4 separate regions of the Homo sapiens genome follow, and all the other regions are linked to region 4. Evidence: promoter capture Hi-C in 16 types of primary human blood cells and fetal thymus (Javierre and others, 2016). All regions are on one chromosome and are shown on one strand. Each heading gives the region's core, a stretch centred on a gene start or on the middle of the fragment in contact. The rest is flanking DNA. Distances are from core to core; before and after follow the strand shown. Region 1 has its middle 48 kb from the start of FLJ32255. Region 2 has its middle 77 kb from the start of FLJ32255. Region 3 has its middle 88 kb from the start of SELENOP. Region 4 holds the start of TMEM267 (transmembrane protein 267).

Region 1 (2,935 bases), core at 355-2,854, 540 kb after region 4:
AGGCAAAAGTAGCTCTCCAGTGCAGTCCATAACGGTTACTTCTTGCAAGATAGAGCTGGCTGAAGACTGGTAAACAGATCTAGTGAGGCAAACTGATGTTAGCTAGCAGTGTCTTTATATTGATCAATGTATTCACGATGATAACTTTTTTTTTTTTTTTTTGAAAAAATTCTTGCTCTGTCGCCCAGGTTGGCATGCAGTGGCCTGATCTTGGCTCACTGCAACCTCCACCTCCTGGGTTCAAGTGATTCTTGTGATTCAGCCTCCTGTGTAGCTGGGATTACAGGCGTGCACCACCACGCCTGGCTAATTTTTTGTATTTTTAGTAGAGATGGGGTTTTGCTATGTTGGCCAGGCTGGTCTTGAACTCCGGGCCTCAAGTGATTCACTCACCTTGGCCACCCAAAGTGCTGGGATTACAGGAGTGAGCCACCCCACCTGGCCCACAATGGTAACTTTTTTAAATGATCTAAAACCAACTCTATACTCATAAATTCAACAAGTTAGATAGAATGGATCAACCCTGCAAGATCCACAGTCATCGTTAATGATATTGAATTCATGGTCAAAAAATCTTCCAAAAAACAAACCTAGAGTTTCTTACAATTTCATTGACTATTTTTTACCAAATATTTAAAGAATAAATAAGATGAATTCTACATGACTTATTCTAGTAAATAAAAGAATATGGAATACTTCCCAATTTATTTTATGAGATCAGCACTTTCCTGGCACACACAGTACGCTAAGAGAAAGCTACTGACCAATATTGCACCTAAGCATAGATGCAGAAATCCTCACCAAAATACTAACAAATGGCAGTCAGAAATATATGTTAAAGAACAATACCATGCCTTGGGCCAGGCGCAGTGGTTCACGCCTGTAATCCCAGCACTTTGGGAGGCCGAGGCCGGCGGATCACGAGGTTAGGAGATCGAGACCATTTTGGCTAACACAGTGATACCCTGTCTCTACTAAAAAAAAAAAATACAAAAAATTAGCCGGGGGTGGTAGTGGGTGCCTGTAGTCCCAGCTACTTGGGAGGCTGAGGCAGGAGAATGGCGTCAACCCGGAAGGCGGAGCTTGCAGTGAGCCGAGACCGCACCACTGCACTCCAGCCTGGGCGACAGAGCGAGACTCCGTCTCAAAAAAAATAAAGAACAATACCACGCCCAAGTAAGATTATTCCAGATGGAGGGCTAGTTTAATGCTCGAAAGTCAAATAATATAATTTGCCTTATTGATAGCCTAGATGAGAAACACCGTATAATCCTATCAAATGATGCACAAAAAGCACTTAAAATCTATACCATTTATGATTTAAAATTTAAAAACCAACTCTCAGCATCATGGGAACAGAGGGAATTTCCTCAACCAAAAAAAATCTACAAAAACCTATAGCAAACGTGGTATGTAATAATGACAGACTCAACGTTTTTCCCATGGAATCAGGAACAAGGCACAAATATCCACTCTCACCATTTCTATTCAACAATGTACTGGAATTGTTTGCCAGTGCAATAAGGTGAGAAAATGTGTTAAAAATCATAAAAATTGGAAGCGAAACAATGAAAATATCCATACCTGCAGAATATGAGTCTATGTAGAAAATCTTAAGGAGTCTAAAAGAAAAGTTCCAGCACTCATGAGTGAGTTTAGCAAGCTCTCAAGATATAACAGTGCAAACCCTCAGAGGGAAAAGTTCCAGGGACTTGGAACAAGAGAATTTCCTGCACTAAGTTCTCAGGCCTGCTGCCTGTTAACCACATTTCCTGTAGGCCCAGCCTGTGAGTCACCTGCCATGCACAACTCCTGGCTGATCCTTCCCTCCAGTCTCTGGATAAGACACACTACTTCTGCCCTGCAATCAGCAAACCTAGGCGACCCAGAGTCCCGTGCCAGTCCTGGCACCAGCAACCAGCCGCCCCGCTCCTATGCCCCGTCCTTACCTTCATCAGCAGGAACCCAGGTAACAGAAATTTAACATTTGTGTCCTATTTTATTTTATTTTATATTTTTGAGACAGAGTTTTGCTCTTGTTGCCCAGGCTGGAGTGCAATGACACCATCTCGGCTCACTGCAACCTCTGCCTCAGGGTTCAAGCGATTCTCCTGCCTCAGCCTCCCGAGTAGTTGGGATTACAGGCATGCGTCACCATGCCTGGCTTATTTTGTATTTTTAGTAGCGACGGGGTTTCACCATGTTGGTCAGGCTGTTCTCGAACTTCTGACCTCAAGTGATCCACCCGACTGGGCCTCCCAAATTGCTGGGATTACCGGCGTAAGCCACCGCGCCCGGCCACATTTGTGTACAATTTTATTGAGAAGGGGAAAGAAAATGGCACAAACTGATTTGAAGGCAAAACTTCTTCCATCGCGTTTGAGAGAACTCAGGTGTTACTGTAACATCATCTGTTACAAGACGATCGTCAATGGAAGGATCTCAGAGAAAATCTCAGGGCTCAGGACATCAAAGGCGGCGGTGGACACCTTCTTAGGGCGTCTGCCCTCAAGCGCATGCAATCTGCAGCCAGCAGTCTTGGAACTTCGGTTGGTGGCTTCGGCGGGACAGTAGTAGGCTGACACTCTGAAAGGTCTCCTCGGACGGACGTCTCCGGCCCCAGTCGTCTGTCCACGAAGCAAGGGGCGAGTTGAGAGGGATGCTGCGGGGGCAGGCGTCCGTTGGGACCCTCTGCAGTCTCCAGCTCTCCAGAGGGCGCCTGCGGCTACTCCTATTTGCCGGTGCCGGATTCAGAGCGGGCGACTTTGAGCCCCTTCTCAAAGTGCGCTGCGGTCTGGGAAAGAGATCTTTTCGCCTGCAGTTTCAGCAAAGAAGCACTCAGGGAGCGGAAAGTAGGTCGCAGTGGAACCTAGAAAGCTGTCCCAAGAGAGCTCGCAGTGGTAAGGACAGGAAGGGAGCATTCAGGACACCGAAT
Region 2 (2,794 bases), core at 207-2,706, 570 kb after region 4:
AAAATAAATATATTGCCGGCTTGGAGAGACGTGGGGTACTTGTCTACACACATTCATTATCAATTCACTACGAAGGCTGCTGCAGCCACCACCGGAGTTCTTATGCCTCCTCTTGTGAAAGCCATCAATTCTTCATTTTTTAACATGTAATTTATGTATGACCCATTCCAGTGCTTCCGTGCCTTTGATAGCATTTGAAGATATCCTACTTGCCATCAGTCCTTCAAGATAACTGCTGAGGCTGCCTCCTTTCACTGATTATGGCTTCTTGAGTCAAAATAATTTTTTTCTGGGTCCTGAGGATGTGGTTTGTATATAAGTCTCTCACCTAATGAAACCATATTTTAAGTGAAATATTAGTAGATTTAAGTTCCATTGTTTTCTCTATAGGATTAACTACAGAATATTCTAGCACATATGTTTTGGTTCTTTCTGTACCAATAAGAGACTTGTAGTTCCCACTCTGTGCAGAGAAGTCTGTGGCTGTGCAACTCTTCATTGGGATCTATATGTGTGTCCAACACATCAACCCACACCATGCCCTGGTTCATAGGGCTTTTGGGTATTTGTGCATTGCAACTGTTGTAACAATTTCCCACAGGTGATCAAAGACGTGCTCTGAAGTCCAGATCTTGATGATGCAGGCAGTCCAGGAGATGTCTGGGCAGTGCAGGGGAAAATGAGGCAAAGAGGCTACACCTGCCCCACTGCACCCCCAGCATGCCAATCAGCTTCGCAGTAGGCAGGCACCATCGGCCTCATGTGAAGGACATCCCAACCCCCTCTTCCAGCCCTTATTACAATGTAAACTTTAAACTATTTAAAAGAGGGGTCCCCAACTCCCCAGACAGCGTGCCTGTACTGGACCCTGGCCTGTTAGTGAGGCAGGAAAATAGGGTCTGGAGGCCGGGAACATAAGGCCCATTCACACTTCAGCTATAACAGGAAATATCCTCTCCATAGGGCATACACCCAGTAAATGACTTTGAAACTTTACTTCATCCTCTTCATTTACATAGGGCGTACCCCAAATAGAGGGTATTTAAACTCACAAAAACTCTGTAACTTTGAGCCCCTATGCGCAGGCCCACTACCACACTGTGGAGTGTACTTTTGTTTTCAATAAATCCCTTCATTCCGTCCTTGCTTTGCTTGCGCATTTTGTCCAATTCTTTCTTCAAGACGCCAAGAACCTGGACACCCTCTACCGTTAGCATTAAGAGCCCCGTGGCACAGCAGGATGGGAGTGGCCAGCAGCCCAGCGTTACCACCTGAGCTCCACTTCTTGTCAGATCAGCAGAGACATTAGATTGTCGTAGGTGCACGAAGCCTACTGTAAACTGCACATGCAAGGGATCTACCTTGTGCGCTCCTCCTGAGAATCTGATGCCTGATTATCTGAGGTAGAACAGCTTCATCTCCAAACTATCCCTGTCTACCAACCCCCCATCCATGGAAAAATTGTCTTCTATAAAACCAGTCCCTTGTGCCAAAAGGGTTGGGGACTGCTGATTTAAAGAACACTGTTAATGTCTGTTCCCTGCCTTCATCTGGAGGACCAGGGTCAGTTTTGAAGCAACTCCAGCAAGTGATCCACCCAGCTGTCCCCTTCCACCGTGCTAGTATCCACAGCTCCTCAAAGGCCCCCTGGAATTTAAACTAAAGCATGATCATGCCACTGCACACCAGCCTGGGCTACCCAGGAAGACTAGCGAGACCCCAGCTCAAAAAAAAAAAAAAAAAAAAAAAAAAAAGCTCTGAGCTGCGTCCCTGTCCCCTTTCTGTCTGCTTCAGGCCCATCTATACCAATCTTGATTTACCAGCTCAAAATCAATTTCACGGGTGGAGAATAGGGAAAGGATTTAATCAATGTGTACAGTTTCTATGGAAGAACCACAGCAATTTTGAATACATCTGAAAGAAGAGTTCCTTAGCACATTGCATATTATTCATTCCATGAAGAGAGTTGTTCTAAATGAAAAATGTTTAGGACGCTCAGGAGAGGAAAAACAAATTAAGGAAAGATCTCCACAACACAGACATCAAGGCTGTTATGAGTGCAGGCACAGTTCCAGTGCAAATGTCCACAGGGACAGCATGAGGGTCCCCATTGGAGTGCCTCGGACTCCTTCCAGGGCAGCAGTTGAAGCAGGTCGTGCTGCAGGCCTGCAGAAAGGCTGGGGTTCCTCTCCTTTCCGGGTTCCTTCCTGATGGAATCCTAGGTTTTCAGCAGCTGCCGGAGGCGGCCTGGGCTGCAGCGGGTGCCCTGGGCGTGTGTACTTCAACCTCCACAGGCGCTGGCATCTCCAGACAGCTTCAGGCCGCTTTGGATCTCACCGTCGGTAGCATCTGTGTCTTCTTGAGGGGACTGGAGCCCGTCTGTGGTTTCAGCCATTGACTCATCGACATGAGAGTCTCGAGGCTGTTTTTGGCCCCTCTCATCTCCGGGCAGGGCTGCGTGCCCGGTGGAATCGCAGTGCAGCAGCCAGCCCGGAGCAGAGCTCCCGTAGAGCTGATGGCATTGGCAGGAGTGGCGGCTCTGCACAGGGAAGTTATCCAGCGCCCAGGCCCAGGCTTGCTCTTGGTTCAGGTCCCATGGCGTGTGGGGCTCTGGACCTGCCTGCCTCCAAGACAGCTCTTCCAAGGTTGATGGTTGGAACTTCATAGCCTCTTCCTGGAAAGGCTTGACTAGGCCCAGCCATAGCTAGTCTAGGAAAAGAGCAAATGGCGCAGTCCATCGCTGACTGTGGGCTTTTATAGCATTCTGTCTTGTACAGGAAGTCGTATACCAAAA
Region 3 (2,700 bases), core at 153-2,652, 580 kb after region 4:
AAAATCATTCCCTGACATTCAGTCTAAAATCTATGTCTACACATTTTTATCATATTTTAAGTGAATTTTATCCCATAATAGTTTTCTGCTTATACTATATGAGTGTTTTCTTTTCCTAAAACCCATAAAAGAAATTGACCAGTAATATCACATTTAATATGGTGAGTCTTAATCCATAGTTGAACCATTTGAATTTAGATTTGTCCATCTGAAGATAAAATTGAATCTCAAGTTTTTGCAATATATCAATATATCCATGGTCACAGGACAAATAATAATATGTAAATGTTTCTTAAAAGTACTTTCAGAATGAGCTGAGGGTCTCTTAGCAGATGACAAAATACTATTGTAAGGTGTTCTCTGTTTCTTTGAAGAGAGAAAGGAATTCATCCTGCTTCCCCCTGCTCTGCTGAAAATGTATGAGATGTGGCCTAACTTTGTAGTTGTCATGCTAACTTAAATGCATGAAAATCTGTGAATACCAACTGAATGCTAGTGTTCCCTGCCTCTTCTGTTTGGTACACTGGGGTTTTTGTTGTGAGAATTGTGTTATCTCCCAACAGTGGATATATTCTGTCCTTTTCTTCCTCCCAAGTGAACTGTGCTGAGAAGCAGTTATTCATAAGGCCTCTCAGAAGATGGTTTCATGAGATCAAACAACCATTAGTGTTCACAGCGGTTTCCAATTTGTGGAGTCAGTGTTCATACAAGTAGTAGGGGATTCTGTTTAAGAGAATTATAAAAATGTTTTAAGACAAATGTTTTACAAACTCTTTGGAAGTTTGCCTTACAGTTAAACTTTATTGGTTTAATAATAAAGTCACCTCTGGTCATACTTGATACTAAGCTTGAACAACTAGGAAGCACAGCATTGAATATGCTCATCCCTGACCCTCTCCTTTTTCTTCTCACTCCCACTTCCTAAGGACAGCACTCTTGAATAAAGCAATCTCACATGAGTGTTTATTTCAGTAATGTTTTTTGGGGGAAGCCAGGCCATTAAAACATACCTTTCTGCTCACCTTATGTACTTCACTGTTTTTCCCCTGCTGTTGGAATCCTCAAAAATTCACTCTGTATTAAAATTTGTTTCAGAGTACCTTCAAAAATAGAATGACTCAGGCCAATCTTGACTCTCGATATGCTGCAAATGAGACATGTTCCCTACATTTAAACAGTCTTTGACTGAGTGGTACAACTACATAGAAAGTCCTTTTTAAATACCAACAAGTTTAAGTATTTATACGACCTTTTCGTGCGTCATTCCAGTGCCCCCTCTTCAATTTTTTCATCATCCAATATCTTTCCCAAACCACAGGGCCAAATCAACTATATGTTAACATTCTGAATCCAGTAATATACTTTAAAAAAATGCATCATAATCTAATGGAGTTTATCAGGAACTCAACTTTGGTTTGGCGTTTGAAAATCAATCTCTATTATTCTCCACATTAACAGCAGAAAAAATATACGATAATCTCAGTAGATACAAAAAATCTTTTAAAAAATTCAACCCTGCTTCATTAATATAAAAGTCATCTTAGCAAATTAGAAATTGCAAATTCCCTTAATTTGATAAAGCATTTCTATATGAGATGTACATCTAACATCTCATCAAATTGTGAAATACTGAAAACTGCCAATTTCTTATTGAAATAAGAAAACTGCCAATAACTGGACCCATTCTCTCACACCCTGCCCCACCCTATTACAGCCTGATCCAATAGAAACCCAAGGAGTTTCAATAGTGCCTTCTGGAATGATAAACTTTCCACCACAACCCTATCATGGTTTAAAGCAATTAGCAAGGTAATAAGTGTTAATCCCCACATGATTGGATTCTGGTATCCGACTTCCTGTACAAGACAGAATGCTATAAAAACCCACAGTCAGGGATGAATTGAGCCATTTGCTCTTTTCCTAGACTAGCTACTTGGCCGGACCTGGTCAAGCTTTGGGAGGCTGAGGCTATGGAGTTCCATCCATCAACTCTGGAAGAGCTGTCTTGGAGGCAGGCAGGTCCAGAGCCCCACATGCCATGGGACCTGAACCGAGAGCAAGTCTGGGCCTGGGCACTGGATAACTTCCCTGTGCTGAGCCGCCACTCCTGTCAATGCCATCAGCTCTGTGGGAGCTCTGCTGCGAGCTGGCTGCTGCACTGAGCCTCCACCAGGCACGGAGCCCTTCCCGGAGATGAGAGGGGCCAAAAACGGCCTCCAGACTCCCATTTTGAGGAGTCAATGGCTGAAACCACAGACGGTCTTCAGTCCCCTCAAGAAGACGCAGATGCTACCGACGGTGAGTTCCAAAGCGGCCTGAAGCTGCCTGGAGATGCCAGCGCCTGCGGAGGTGGAAGTACACATGCCCAGGGCGCTCTCTGCAGTTCAGGACCCTCCCACCCCGCCCCGGAAGCTGCTGAAAACCCAGGGTTCCATCAGGAAGGAACCCGGAAAGGAGAGGAACCCCAGCCTTTCTGCAGGCCTGCGACACGACCTGCTTAACTGCTGCCCTGGAAGGAGCCCGAGGCACTCCAGTGGGTGCCCTCATGGCGTCGCTGCGGACTTTTACACTGGAACTGTTCCTTGCACGCATAAGAGCCTTGAGGCCTCTGCTGTGGAGATCATTCTTTAATTTGTTCTTCCTCTCCTGAACGTCCTGAACATTTTTCATTTAGAAAAACTCTCTTCATGGAATGAATAA
Region 4 (2,700 bases), core at 142-2,641:
AAAAAAAAAAAAAAAAAAAAGGAATAAACATCTACAGGCAGTAGACCGACTACAGAGAAAAGAACTACTATTACATTGTTTGGGTTTGCATGAAGCCATCTATGTTGTTCCTCAATAGCTCCATAAAGCCTAGATTATAAGACTTTGTACCACACTGCCAAAAGGGTAATGCCAAATTATTACTGCATTCAGAAGGAGAAAATTTGTCCTTAACATGGCTAAAAGCACTCAAAATTATAAATACATTTGCTGAAAGATACTTTAAATTCTCATTTAAGGTGTGTGGGAGTTAAAAGGTGTTTAATTTTCCCTGTCAGTTGGGTGTTTTACATTGGCTAAGAACCAAGACTGTGACAAGAAATGAGTTCTATGATTGAGAAACTCTAAGATTCTGGGGGTGGCCTAGGAGTTTACTTTGAGATTGAAATTTATTTTCTATGGTCAACTGTATAATTACGATGATACCACCCCTTGCTTTCCATCTGACACTTGGTTTGAGAAACTGTAGGTAGGAAAGGGAAAGAAGAATGTCCCTCCTTGGGCCTCTTCTTTTGGGCCTGTGCTTCCTAGAGTCAAATGTCAAGCTGGTATTTCCTTGGTGCTAAGAGCAACCACCACTCTGAGGCAGAGACGGGATGGGACCTAGCCAAAGTCCCAGTAAACAAACTGTATCTTGTAAGCGCAATTTAATTAGGGTCAAACTATTCTGTATGGACTTGCTTTTTCGACTTCTGAGGATTTAGTAGTCATGATTAAGTGCTGTCACGCTACTGCGATCTACAAACAGTAGCTCCACAACATCCGCCCGCATCGTGGCAAAGAATTATCAAGAAATCCCCAAGGGGGCGGTGAGGAGCCGCCGGTCGGCCAGGTCGCCCGGTCCCTCAGTCTGGTGAAAAGCTCCGTTGCCCACCCTGAGGGCTTCGCGGAAGGAAGTTGGCCGTATCGCTGCACCTTAGAGATGCGACGGCCGAGGCTCCCAGCTCAAGCTTCTGGTAGTAAGGCCTGTGTGCCTGGCATTCGGGGAGGCCACTTTTCTATCCCCAGCTTCCGGGCCACCACTTGGGTGCGTCGTGGGGATGTCGGCAGCTACGTTTGCGGCACAGCTCCGGCTAAACTGAAAAACGAATCCTCAGGTTTGACAAAACTAAACTAAAAAGACACTTTTCTCCTCTCACTCTGACGTCCCAAAAGTTTCCTTTTTAGGGGTCGGGGCCTACGGTGGGCGAGGAGAAACTCGAGGTATCTACCCACCGCACCAAACAACTCATGCGTCGCTTCCTTTCGACTTGGAGCTGGCCAGTATCCCGGCGTCCTCTCGGCCGACGCTGCGGTCTGAGGCCACTCTGGCCGGCAGCCGACGTCTCTATGGCTCCGACCGAGGGGCGGAGCCGCTGCTCGAGCTGCTGCTGGATTGAACTCAGAGAAGCCGGGGTGGGTATGGCTGAGCCGCTGCGTGGGACTGAGGGGAGGGGGCCGGGTGGACGCCGCGGAACTGCGTCCTGAGGTGGGAGACCGGAGGTGGGGGACCACTGAGTCTGATGTCTGGAGGGTCCGGTTGCGGGTCGGAGGGCGTGCTGGAACAGCCGCCACGCGGGAGCCAGGAGCCTCCTGGGTGCGTGTGACCCACGAGCCGGCACCGTCCCGCGGCCCTGGGGTCTGCGAGGAGCCCTGGCGCCGCCCTCCGGCTTCGCGCTTTTTCTAGATCCCTAGAACCCCAGCCCTCCGCCTACGCTCCGCGCCCCTGGCCTTTTTCTGGCCCAGGGTGGGGTTCCGGGAGTCGTGCCGAAGGAGCCCATTGCCGTCCTTAACCGGTTGTAAGAGCCTTTCGTGCCCCGGAGCCTTTGAGGCTTGAATGCTGAGAGTGTGACATGGTCCTTTCCCTGCAGCCTGGCCCATTTTTTTAAATGACATTTGAAAAATTATTGCATCACACCAGACTCAGAAAAGGATGTCTGGGAACTTCTGAGGCTTGAAACATGTTGAAATACAGAATTTTGTTTTATTCGTAATGGGCATAGGAACTAAACATTTTAAGTGCAGACATCTGATGGCTATAAAAAGTTTCAGTGAAAGTAAGCAAGATTTGTGTTTCCTTTGTCAGTTAGTTGCATCAGATTTGGCATCTGCTTTTGATATTTTTCCATTAAAGAAATTAAATATATTAAGTTTACAGCAACTACAGTTCAGTGAAGAAGACTTACTGGTAAAGCATAATAAAGGCGGTTTCTGGAATTTGGACCGTGTTTTGACCTTGGGTTTTTGCATATAATGTGTAAGGTTGGTGGGGAAGAGGGAAAGTTAAAACAGATGACACTTACTTAGAGAATGTATCAGCTCTTATTTGTTTTGACAGAAATAATGTCTAAGAGATTATTAGCAAACAATACATGATAGCGTATAATTAAAGTGACCAGCTAATTATATGTTTGTGGAATTCAGGAAGGAGAAAAGTACTGTTATGTATACTCTGAAGGCCCCAAAGTTAGTGGTATTTGCTATAAGGGGGATGGGGTGTGACAAAGTTTGGCCATTGCAGAAAATGGCTTCTGCGAGTCATAGGGAGGAATTTATAATATGTCAGTTATGTCAGAGAAGCTATCCCAAACAGTATCTTTAGTTCATAGGCTGCGGATTTATTATGTGATTATCTCTTGTATTAGTAAAATGGAATATTTATTAAATACCTTGAGCACACTG

The links. The method cuts DNA at HindIII sites, captures the fragments that hold promoters and counts their contacts. A CHiCAGO score of 5 or more calls a contact.
Region 1: a fragment that was not itself captured here is called in contact with the fragment with the promoter of TMEM267 in region 4 in 2 of 17 cell types (activated CD4 T cells and naive CD4 T cells); the score reaches 5.6 in activated CD4 T cells.
Region 2: a contact is called between a fragment that was not itself captured here and the fragment with the promoter of TMEM267 in region 4, in 1 of 17 cell types (naive CD4 T cells). The highest score is 6.0, in naive CD4 T cells.
Region 3: a fragment that was not itself captured here is called in contact with the fragment with the promoter of TMEM267 in region 4 in 1 of 17 cell types (non-activated CD4 T cells); the score reaches 6.2 in non-activated CD4 T cells.

What each region holds. Positions count from the first base shown.
Region 1 is chr5:42,944,022-42,946,956 of GRCh38, reverse strand. No RefSeq gene overlaps it. Among named protein-coding and RNA genes, the nearest start is that of FLJ32255, 48 kb to the left of the region's middle. The HindIII fragment of the contact is 7,406 bases long and covers 1-2,935 here.
Region 2 is chr5:42,915,257-42,918,050 of GRCh38, reverse strand. It overlaps the pseudogene PRELID3BP6. Among named protein-coding and RNA genes, the nearest start is that of FLJ32255, 77 kb to the left of the region's middle. The HindIII fragment of the contact is 4,686 bases long and covers 1-2,794 here.
Region 3 is chr5:42,898,796-42,901,495 of GRCh38, reverse strand. No RefSeq gene overlaps it. Among named protein-coding and RNA genes, the nearest start is that of SELENOP, 88 kb to the right of the region's middle. The HindIII fragment of the contact is 1,105 bases long and covers 850-1,954 here.
Region 4 is chr5:43,482,556-43,485,255 of GRCh38, reverse strand. It overlaps TMEM267 (transmembrane protein 267), which reads left to right and starts at 1,391. Exons shown (of 3, transcript NM_022483.5): 1 at 1,391-1,434. C5orf34-AS1 (C5orf34 antisense RNA 1) reads right to left here and starts at 1,337. Exons shown (of 3, transcript XR_007058763.1): 1 at 1,255-1,337. RefSeq lists enhancers at 1,062-1,251, 517-1,360 and a silencer at 1,306-1,536. The HindIII fragment of the contact is 3,795 bases long and covers 992-2,700 here.